Regions from separate parts of the Homo sapiens genome. Here region 1 is linked to region 2. The links are contacts of gene promoters, found by promoter capture Hi-C in blood cells and fetal thymus (Javierre and others, 2016). All regions are on one chromosome and are shown on one strand. The core of a region is centred on a gene start or on the middle of the fragment in contact, and the rest is flanking DNA. Distances in the headings are between cores, read along the strand shown.

Region 1 (5,283 bases), core at 2,423-4,922, 340 kb before region 2:
TGTACTGCCTAAAACACTTAATTTCGTTTTTAAAGAACACTTGCTTTTCATTGTTCACAATTTTAAAATCAAAGGGACTCTATGAAATGGTGGTTCTAACTTGTAACTGCACATCGCGAAGAATCGAGAGAAACAGCTGTTACTCACATAAACGACTACTGAATGATGCAAAGATCTGCATTTTACGTTTTTTTCTTTACATGAATCCAAAACCAGAAAAAAGGATTTCCTGAGAGTCTTCCTGTGTATTAAAACTAAAATCTCTAAATAGCAAAGAGAGGGGAACAAAATCCTTAAGCGCTCATCCTGTCAAAAATATTAAGGTAACTTAATGGTCGACACTAATGAGTAAACAAACCATCTCTGCAATTAAGCAATATGAAGATAATTTCTGTAAATTTCCTAATTCAAATAACTGACATACAATACAAATGGCCAAATTTCTGTGAACATTCTACAGTTTGCTCCAACTTTTTTTTCTTCTTTCTGATATTCGCTCTAGATACAGACATTTCCATTAGCGGGAAGTATCCTTTGGAATGCTTATATTATTAATAACTAGTTGAATGCCAGTTTTATATATATATATATATATATATATATATATATATATATATATATTCACCTAACTTCTATTAATTGCAATAAAATAAGTTCATGGAAGAATGGAAGGAAGGCTAGGCTAGGACTAAAGAGATCTGCCTGGTGACCTCGGATAAGAAACTTATCCAAAGCTTCAGTTTCCTCTGGACTTAACAGTAAATGAATTCATAGTTATTTCTGTAGTCCAGAAGTGGCACGGCTGCATTCTCTGCTGAAGGCCTCCCAAAATCAAAATCAAGATCTTGGCAGGGCTCATAGTTCATCTCGTCTGGAGCTCAAGGTCCTCTTCTAAGCTCATTCATTTATAAATATGTATAAAAATATATATGCATAAATTTTTCCTTGCTAGTTATTAGCTGGGAGTCACTCTCAGCCACAAAATACATATATTTATATATTTATATCCTCATACATATAAAACATTTATATGTCCTTATACATGTGTGTATATGTGTATGTGTGTGTATGTATGAGTATAAATATATATACATGTTATATACATAAGTCCTTATTTATATAAAAAGTTCCAGCTTTAGTTGTTGTGCTCCCCAGGCTTGTCTGGAAGAGAGAGCTGTGTGATCCACTCCAATCTTAGAAGTAAAGTTCAAACTGCAGCTAATGTTAAATCGTGCCAGAGAAGGTTTACTTATTAACTCTGCTTAGAGAAGTGTGTGACCCACACATTTGAACTGCTAATGATTACTGGACTTTTAAAACTGCTGTTCAAGTAATAACATTCTTCTATTTGTTCCACCAAATTTAACATGAACTAAAATCCTAACTAATGTTAGTGTTAGCTGGATAATATTAATAAAAGTTGGAACTTTATAAGGAAAAAGAGAGAATGAATGCATGATGGAAGGACAGAGTCCTTGGGCAGCTGAGGGCAGTTTCTGGAAAGGTTTTGCAATTCTCCTTGTTCGTCTCTCAGTTGCCATCAGCACTCAGAACAACCTGCCCTGTCCTTCCTTACTTACCCTGTCCAAGATTCCAGCTTGTTCTGGTGGCCTCCTTTTTCTAAGTCCACAGCTAACACACATTGCAGGAAACTGTACTTTGACAGGCACCTGCTTTTCTCAGCTCATTTCTCTCTGCAACAATTGCTTCAGCCATTTGCTATCATTTGTATCATTTCATACACAAATAATTACAAGGACAAAATAAAGAAATACAAAGATATGATAGAACTGTCCTTGTCTTTGACAGACCAAAGAAAATAACAGACCTTTGTCCAAAATGATAAGTGACAGGCTGAGAGACAAAGACACACAGAGAAAGAACAAGTAAAAAAGACTGGGAATAAAAATGGAGACATAACTGTAGATACCCCAAAACTAAAAACAGCATACAAAACCATGATGAGCAACTTTGTCTGGAAATGCAGATGAAATAAAAATTCCTAGAAAAATACAAGTCGCTACAAAGTGACTCAGGATGAAATAGGTAAACTTTCTTTTTTTAATTTTATTTATTTATTTGAGACAGAGTCTCACTCTGTCGCTCAGGCTAGAGTGCAGCGGCGCAATCTCAGCTCAGTGCAACCTCCACCTCCCAGGTTCAAGCAATTCTCCTGCCTCAGCCCCGCGAGCAGCTAGGATGACAAGCGTGCACCGCCATGGCCGGTTAATTTTTGTGTTTTTAGGAGAGACAAGGTTTCACCACGTTGGCCAGGCTGGTCTCGAACTCCTGACCTCAAGTGATCTGCCTGCCTTGGCCTCCCAAAGTGCTAGGATTACAGGTGTGAGCCACCTCACCGAGCCCATAAACTTTCAATGAATTGAATTGGCAATTGAAATGTTATCATAGAACAATAGAAACCTAGTGGTACGGAAATTGATTTTAAGAATGATTTGCTCATGACCATTCTTAGCTTGATTTGGAGAGATTCATAATCTTTTAAAAGACAGTTTATCCATGTGACTAATGAAAAGCAGAACTTCTCTTCTTACTCAGAACTTCCTTACTTACCCCATGCCTCCTTACTAACCTGACAGTTTTTTCACTGCACAAACTTCAAGATAATCTTAATTTCCTCACTTACGCCCTACATCTACTTTGGCGACAAAACCAAGACATTGCTTTCTCTGTCATTTCTCTCAAATCTACATTTTTCTCTCCATCTCTATCAAATTCTGCCTGGCCCACAGACACACAATCCTCAGAGTGCATATCCACTAATACTGCTTTCCTTCCGTCTGCCCCACACAAGCATACACTATGACTCAAGTCATCTCACAAACAGGCCACATCAGCTAGGCTAATCTAGTAAAACAAATTATACAACGCTTTTCCCTCAAAGCTGGACGACTGGCTTTTCTTTTATTAAAATTCAAAGTCAGCTGGGGGCAGTGGCTCACACCTGTAATCCAAGCACTTTGGGAGGCCGAGGAGGGCAGATCACTTGAGGTCAGCAGTTCGAGACCAGCCTGGGCAACATGGTGAAACCCTATCTCTACTAAAAATACAAAAATTAGTCAGGAGTGTTGGCGGGCGCCTGTAGTCCCAGCTACTCGGGAGGCTGATACAGAAGAATCGCTTGAACGTGGGAGGCAGAGGTTGCAGTGAGCCAAGATCGCGCCACTGCATTCCAGCCTGGGCGTCAGAGTGAGACTCCATCTCAATAAATAAATAAATACAATTTGAACTTGCTTCTTTCTTTCCCCCTAAACAGTCGTTGTCCTGGGAGGTTCACAGATCACATGAGGTCCTGTGGGCTCTTAGAGGCTCTGAGCACGATCAGAAGCCATCAGTGTGTGTGTGATACTGAAAGCCAGGAGCCTGCATTCACCACCAAGGGAGAAACTGAGGCCTGTGCCCAGGGCGCTCTGGCATTTAGTGGTCGGGGAGCTGCTGGGAACTGGCAAAAGAGACAGAGAAGGAGTCAGGTGCAGTGTCTCACGCCTGTAATCCCAGCACTTTGGGAGGCTGAGGGAGGTGGATCACCTGAGGTTAGGGGTTCAAGATCAGCCTGACCAACATGGTGAAACCCAGTCTCTACTAAAAATACAAAAATTAGCCAGGCATGGTGGCGCATGCCTGTAATCCCAGCTACTCGGGAGACTGAGACAGGAGAATTGCTTGAACCCAGGAGGCAGAGGTTGCAGTGAACCAAGATCGTGCCATTGCACTCCAGCCTGGGTGACACAGCAAGCGAGACTCTGTCTCAAAAAAAAAAAAAAAAAAAGAGACTTAGAGAAGGAATGGCCAGTGAAAGTGAATGGGACCCAAGGGAGCTATGAATGAAACCTGGAAACCAAGTGAGACCAGGGTTTCAAGCAGGAGAGGATGTGATGGGCACCTTTGTGAAACGCTGCTACCAGGTTACACGAGACAGGGACTGTTTACCAACCCAAGAATCACTCGGGGAGCAGCAGGGGTGAAGACCTGGCTGGAGTGGCTTCAAGACATAATGGGAAAAGAGGAATTGGAGGCAGCTAGTATAGGCAGCTTTGTCAAGGGTAGTAGACGGAGGGGAATCCAGGGCCAAGAAAGGTTTTGTTTCACTGTTTTGCTTGTTTTTAAAAATGGCAGAAACTGCTGGGTGTGGTGGTTCACATCTGTAATCCTAGCACTTTGGGAGGCCGAGGTGGGTGGATCACTTGAGGTCAGGAGTTCGAGACCAGCCTGTCCAATATAGTGAAAACTCATCTCTACTAAAAATACAAAAATTAGCTGGGCATGGTGGCATGTGCCTGTAGTCCCAGCTACTTGGGAGGCTGAGGCAGGAGGACCACTTGAACCTGGGAGGTGAAGGTTGCAGTGAGCTGAGATCATGCCACTGCACTCCAGCCTGGGTGACAAAGTGAGACACCATCTCAAAAAAACAAAAAAAAAGGCAGAAACAAATAATTTTCTATAAGCTGATAGGAACGATCTTGTAGGGAGAGAATTAATGGATATCTTTTGGTCTTCTGGACATTAAGCCTAGGCCTTGCTGAAGTGAACTCTACTCTAGCCAAGTTTCCTGTGAGGCATAAATACACCCACTTCCACCTCCCAATCTTCATTCATGATGTTCCCTCTGGCAGAAATGCTCTTCCTCCCCTCTGTTAGCAGATCCAAGTTTTGCCCATGCATTAAGTTTCTGTTCAAATCTTAGGTCTGCCACAAGGCCTTCCTTAACTTTTATAACCTAGACCAAGTGCTTATTTAATTTTTTAATAGCACTGAGCATTTATAAATTACTTATTAAGTATCTCTGTGTGGAAAGGAGTGAGCTAGATTTGGGAACAGAGTAAGTTAAATAAAAAGCACCATTCCATACTCGAGAAGCTAACAAACTTCTTATTTGTCCTAAGCAATAATTTTTTGTATGTGTTCCCTAATTACCTTGTCAACTTTGAAGGCAGGCAGGAATCAATGTTTTAATCTTTTTTAGTGCCTAGCACAATAAGTACTTCATAATCAGAGCTAGATAGATATTTATCAAATTAAATTAAAAATAAATATGACGGAATTACTTAGGCATACTTCCCAATTGTATAAAAGAATCACAAAAACTTCCCTTAATAGTTTATTCCTTCAAACATTTTGTAACAATTATTTTAAAACTTTCTAAAAGAGGTTGGATATGTCCCTGCTATGTTAAATAAAGAGCCTTAAGGACAGTGGCTTTTTAAAAAAATAATAATAATATTGACCTGCTTGTGGATGACTGAACTGAGTATCTTTATTGAAAAT
Region 2 (5,796 bases), core at 1,366-3,865:
AAAAAATGTGGCCCATCCTGGTGGCTCCTGCCTGTAATCTCAGCACTTTGGGAGGCCAAGGCAGGTGGATCACTTGAGGCCAGGAGTTAAAGACCAACATGACAAAACCCCAGCTCTACTAAAGATGCAAAAAGAATTAGCCGGGTGTGGTGGTACACCTACAATAACAACTACTTGGGAGCTGAGGCACAAGAATCACTTGAACCTGGAGGCAGAGATTGCAGTGAGCCAAGATGGCACCACTGCACTCCAGTCTAGACGACAAAAGAGACCCTGTCTCAAAAAAATAAAACTAAAAAAGCAGACAAAAATCCCTGTGGACGTGGGAGTGTACCTTCTAATGCAAGTAATTACTGTCTACCATTTATGTAGTTCCAGATGTTATCAGTGTTTTATACTCATTATTTCATCCTCACATCCTACCTGCCCATCAGATAGGTACACTTTCTGTCCTCATTTGCCAGTTGAGGATACGGAGGTTAAGTAGCTTGTCCAGGGTCATGTTGATAGTAAGTAGAGCTCAGATTTAAATCCAAGAAGGCCACCACACTTTTAGACACTGTGCTCTCTGACAACACACTGCTAGCCACCGTGCCATGCTGCCTCCACAGCATCGGAAGGGCAGTGATGAAATATACTGATTCAAAATATATCCCTTTAGCACCTACTGTGTGCTAGGCAGTGTTAGGCCAGTGTGGCTGCAGCAGAATGATCCGGGGCTACAGAGGAAGGAGGGAGGGTGTTGTGAGCAAATCTTACAGGGCTTTGCTCACCATGTATAGCCTCTGGTTTTCACTCTCCATAAGATGGGAAGCCATTGCAGGGTTGTGAGCAGAGGACTGACATAATTTGACTTAGGTTTTTTTGTTTTGTTTTCTTTGAGACGGAGTCTCCCTCTATGCCCAGGCTGGAGTGCAGTGACGCAATCTCGGCTCACTGCCACCTCCACCTCCACCTCCACCTCCTGGGTTCAAGCGATTCTCCTGCCTCAGCCTCCCGAGTAGCTGGGACTACAGGTGCACGCCACCACTCCCAGCTAGTTCTTTTGTATTTTTAGTAGAGAAAGGGTTTCACCATATTGGCCAGGCTGGTCTCGAACTCCTGACCTCGTGATCTGCCCACCTCAGCCTCCCAAAGTGCTGGGATTACAGGTGTGAGCCACCGCGCCCGGCCTTGACTTAGGTTTTAAACAGATTGCATTGACTGTTGTGTTGACAACAGACTACAGAGGGGGCATAGAGAGCTGTTGGGAACGGTTGTAATTACCAGAAAAAAGAAAAATTATGATGGCTTGAGTAGAAGCTATAAAGTCAGCAGGTTGCATTGATGGATATGGAAAGAGAGGGCTCTAGGCCACATCTACTAAAAGACATGAAGAAGGAGCAGGGTTTTTGTTTTTGTTTTGGCAGGGAGGTGTTTGGGGAGGTTGTTTTGTACAATCAAGTGGATGTTGAATATACATTGATATACAAATCTAAAGTTCAGAGAAAGACCGGGCTGAAGAGAGAAATTTGGGAGTTGTAAGTAAATAGTTTTTTGTTTTTAGTTTTACTAAGTATTGCCTTTGTTTTAGTATGACTCGTTTATTTAGAAGTTTATATAATTTAATTTGTGATATGTCTTGTGTTTTTGTTTTGTTTGGGGCAGGTGCCCGAGGCCCTTGTCATCTTCATTGACTCCAGCTCATGGCTTGTATTTAACAACGAGCTCAGAAAAATTCCTAAAAATTTAATTACTGAGTCTCCAGAGCTCTAATGAGCTGGCTCCAGCACACAATTGCTCCTTTCTTTCATTCAACAATTTGACAAGTCCTGATGGCTCTACATTCAAAACATGTAAATTGGCCGGGCGCGGTGGCTCACGCCTGTAATCCCAGCTCTTTGGGAGGCCGAGGCGGGTGGATGACGAGGTCAGGAGATCGAGATCATCCTGGCTAACACGGTGAAACCCCGTCTCTACTAAAAATACAAAAAATTAGCCAGGCGTGGTGGTGGGTGCCTGTAGTCCCAGCTACTCGGGAGGCTGAGGCAGGAGAATGGCGTGAACCCGGGAGGCGGAGCTTGCAGTGAGCCGAGATAGCACCACTGCACTCCAGCCTGGGCGACGGAGCGAGACTCCGTCTAAAAAAAAACAAAAACAAAAAAACAAAAAACCGTATATCTTGAATCTGATCACTTTTCGCTTAGATAGTACTGTAATATAGTAATAGATAATGCTAGAAAAAATAATTAAAGCTATAGATATCATCTATTGTAGGTTTACTGATTGTCAGGCACTATGGCGACTCTCTGGAATGGTTCATTCCTCGCAAATGAATAGATAGGAGATATCTACTATCAGGAACTACAAACACAGTCTCCGTGCTGTGATCCGCTTTCACAGGGAATTTTGTCTGGGATTCAAGTAGCGGCAAGTAACCCTTTTTCGCCCTCCATCTCTGCTCAGGGGTGAGCCCTGGCAGCGCTCCTACCTGGGACCTACATTGGCTTAGTAAGATGGGCCGGCGCCCACCCCAGCCCTCGCGCATGCGCATAAAAGCCCACTCCCGGGGGCGGGGCCTGAGCTAGCTGGGCGGGGCCTGAAGGAGCCGGGAGCTCCTGCAGCTTCATCGCGTTACTAAGAGACGCGAGGGTCGCGAAGGGCACAACACTTGGCCTCTCGCTGGCCCTGCTCGCGGATCCCGAGTAGAGAACGCAAGCACCCACGCCCGCCTGCAAGCTCCCGGGCGCCCCCGGCCTCTCCTGCTCGGCGGAACGAGGATAACCCAGTAGAGCCGGACCCAGGGGTGGGTGGATGCGTCGCTGGAGGCGAGGGCCCTGCCCGCCAACCCCTGCGCCCCGGCCGTAGCCCCACCCCGGAAGTTCTTGCCCCGCCTTCTCGGCTCCGCAGTTCTCTGCTGTCTCCTGAGGTTTGCCAGGGAGATCCCGTGGTTTTCATGTCTCTTCCGTGATTTTTAGGGAAGAGGGTCACTATTTGGCCCTTCCAGAATCTCAGGGTCCGGTTCTCCCGGAAGTTTCCGGGCCGCCCCGGACCCCATTGGCTTTAGGGGCCGCGTCTCCGAGGGCTCCGATTTGGGCCCTAGATTTTGGAATACTGTGTTTTGTCCGTCCCAGCCTTCACCAGGCGGATTTCATCTCCCACACAGTTAGTGATTTATGGCAGAAAGGAAGCTGGAGGGATGGGGACTGCAGGTTAGCTGTGAGGGCCGGAAGGGAGCGGTTTTGTGCTGCACACAGGCAGGTCAGCACTCCCAGAGCAGGGACCGCCGGGCGTGCTTTCGGAACCGCTTTTGTCTTTCAAATGAACGCCCAGCGACAGCAGACGGGAGTTCCAGGACCTTAGAGACCGGCTAATGCTTCTCTTTAAGTTAGGAAACAGGCGCAGGCGTGTTCATGGCCTTGCCTAAGGTTACGTGCTGGTTACAGGGCTCCTCCTGCTGCCTCTTAAGAACAGAAATAATCTAATAGGAGGAATAAAAGGGACTATTAGGGAGGCTAATGCTCTTGAAGTTTTAATACTACTAAAAGTAAAAGCGCTTTTCAGAGTGAAAGGGAAGTGAAAAGGGAATTTGGGTGGCTGGCTACATCAGAAGCTTCTGTTCCAACTTTAGATTGTCAGGGAGTTGAGATGGTGTTTTTTGTTTTTATTTTTGTTTTAGTTTTTTGAGACGGAGTCTCGCTCTGTAGCCCAGGCTGGAGTGCAGTGGCGGGATCTCGGCTCACTGCAAGCTCCGCCTCCCGGGTTCACGCCATTCTCCTGCCTCAGCCTCCCGAGTAGCTGGGACCACAGGTGCCCGCCACGATGCCCGGCTAATTTTTTGTATTTTTAGTAGAGACGGGGTTTCACTTTGTTGGCCAGGATGGTCTCGATCTCCTGACCTCGTGATCCACCCGCCTCGGTCTCCCAAAGTGCTGGGATTATAGGAGTGAGCCACCGCGCCGAGATGGTGTGTTTTTAAAATAACGTGCCCGAGGCCGGGCGTGGTGGCTCACCCCTGTAATCCCAGCACTTTGGGAGGCTGAGGCAGGCGGATCACCTGAGGTCGGGAATTCGAGACCAGCCTGACCAACATGGGAAAACCTCGTCTCTACTAAAAATACAAAAAAATTAACCAGGCATGGTGGCGCATGCCTGTAATTCCAGCTACTCGGGAGGCTGAGGCAGGAGAATCGCTTTAACCTGGGAGGCGGAGGTTGTGGTGAGACAAGATCACGCCATGGCGCTCCAGCCTGAGCAACAAGAGTGAAACTCCATCTCAAAAAAATAATAAATAAATAAATAAAATAACATGCTCCTCAATTTAACTATGGGATTATGTCCCAATACACCCATGGTAGGTCGAAAATGCATTTAATGCACCTAGCCAACTTTAAACGTCCTCAGAACACTTAGCTCCCCTGCAGTTGGGCAACATCATCTAACACAAAGCCTATTTTATAATAAAGTGTTGACTATGTCATGTAACTTACTGAATACTGAATTCAAAGTGGAAAACAGAATGGTTGCGTGGGTACTCGAATTACTGAATGCGTATTGCTTTTGCACCATGGTAAAGTGGAGATATGAGTTGAACCATTCCACGGGACCATCTGTATGCATATAAACCCTAAGTATTTCATATAATTCAGTTTCACAAACCAGAAACTCAGGCATTGCTGTTTCCTGTTTGTGGAGCTACAACTTGGTATTTTAGATGTCAAATTTATTTATTTTTTTGAGATGGTGTCTTGCTCTGTCACCCAGGCTGGAGTGCAGTGGTGCGATCTTGGCTCACCGCAACCTCCGTCTCCTGGGTTCAAGTGATTCTCCTGCCTCAGCCTCCCGAAGTAGCTGGGACTACAGGCAGCCGCCACCGCATCCGGCTAATTTTTTTTTTTTTTTTTTTTTAGTAGAGACAGGTTTTCACCAGGTTGGCTAGGCTGGTCTCGAACCCTTGACCTCAGGTGATCCACCTGCCTCGGCCTCCCAAAGTGCTGGGATTACAGGCGTGAGCCACCGCACATGGCCAAAACGTTTATTTTTATTTATTTATTTTTTTAACATTTTTTTCTTGAGGCAGGGTCTCATTCTTGTCTCCCAGGCTGGAATGCAGTGACTTGATCACAGCTCACTGTGGCCTCAACCTTGGGGGATCAAACAATCCTCCCACCTTAGCCTCCCCAGTAGCTGAGACTACAGTCATGGGCCACCACACCCAGCTAATTTTATTTTTTGTAGAGATAGGGTCTCACTACGTTGCCCAGGCTGGTCTTGAACTCGGACTCAAAGGATCCTCCCTCCTCAGTCTCAGAAAGAGCTGGGATTACAGGTGTGAGCCGCTGCATCCAGCCATTAAATGTATTTTTTATCAATTCTTTTTTTGGCACAACTGCCAGCAAAGAAACCACTCAGTCTGCAAGAGCTAAGTACTAGCAGAATTAGAACTGCCACTGAATTTCCTAGAATCACTGAAAAATTTAATCAAGGAATTGTAAGTTGATCTTTCCTAATTTTAGTTTCATTTTGTGTTTTTAATAAACTGAAAGTAAGGGCAAAAAAAAAGAATTTCCACCACCACTTATATAGCGTAGTTACAGTAGTCACTAGAGTTCCTACTATGGTGAAATTTACATTCATATTCTCTTTAGGTATTTTGGGAAAATAAAATTTTGAAATGCTTAATAATAACCGGAGGATGTCTATTTCTACTGAGAAAAGTGGTGATTTCCCCCAAAGTCCAATTGAATACAGCATATTTTCTGCTCTTCTATTAAATGTAGCATTTTTATGTATAGTTGCCATAATTTTTTGAGCTGA

Evidence for each region. The method cuts DNA at HindIII sites, captures the fragments that hold promoters and counts their contacts. A CHiCAGO score of 5 or more calls a contact.
Region 1: a fragment that was not itself captured here is called in contact with the fragment with the promoter of MEIG1 in region 2 in 2 of 17 cell types (neutrophils and monocytes); the score reaches 6.7 in neutrophils.

Annotation. Positions count from the first base shown.
Region 1 is chr10:14,610,909-14,616,191 of GRCh38, forward strand. The region is part of intron 2 of FAM107B (family with sequence similarity 107 member B); the gene reads right to left. Among named protein-coding and RNA genes, the nearest start is that of FAM107B, 160 kb to the right of the region's middle. The HindIII fragment of the contact is 5,880 bases long and covers 733-5,283 here.
Region 2 is chr10:14,956,773-14,962,568 of GRCh38, forward strand. It overlaps MEIG1 (meiosis/spermiogenesis associated 1), which reads left to right and starts at 2,616. Exons shown (of 3, transcript NM_001080836.3): 1 at 2,616-2,785. RefSeq lists a silencer at 2,839-2,888. The HindIII fragment of the contact is 3,683 bases long and covers 1-3,590 here.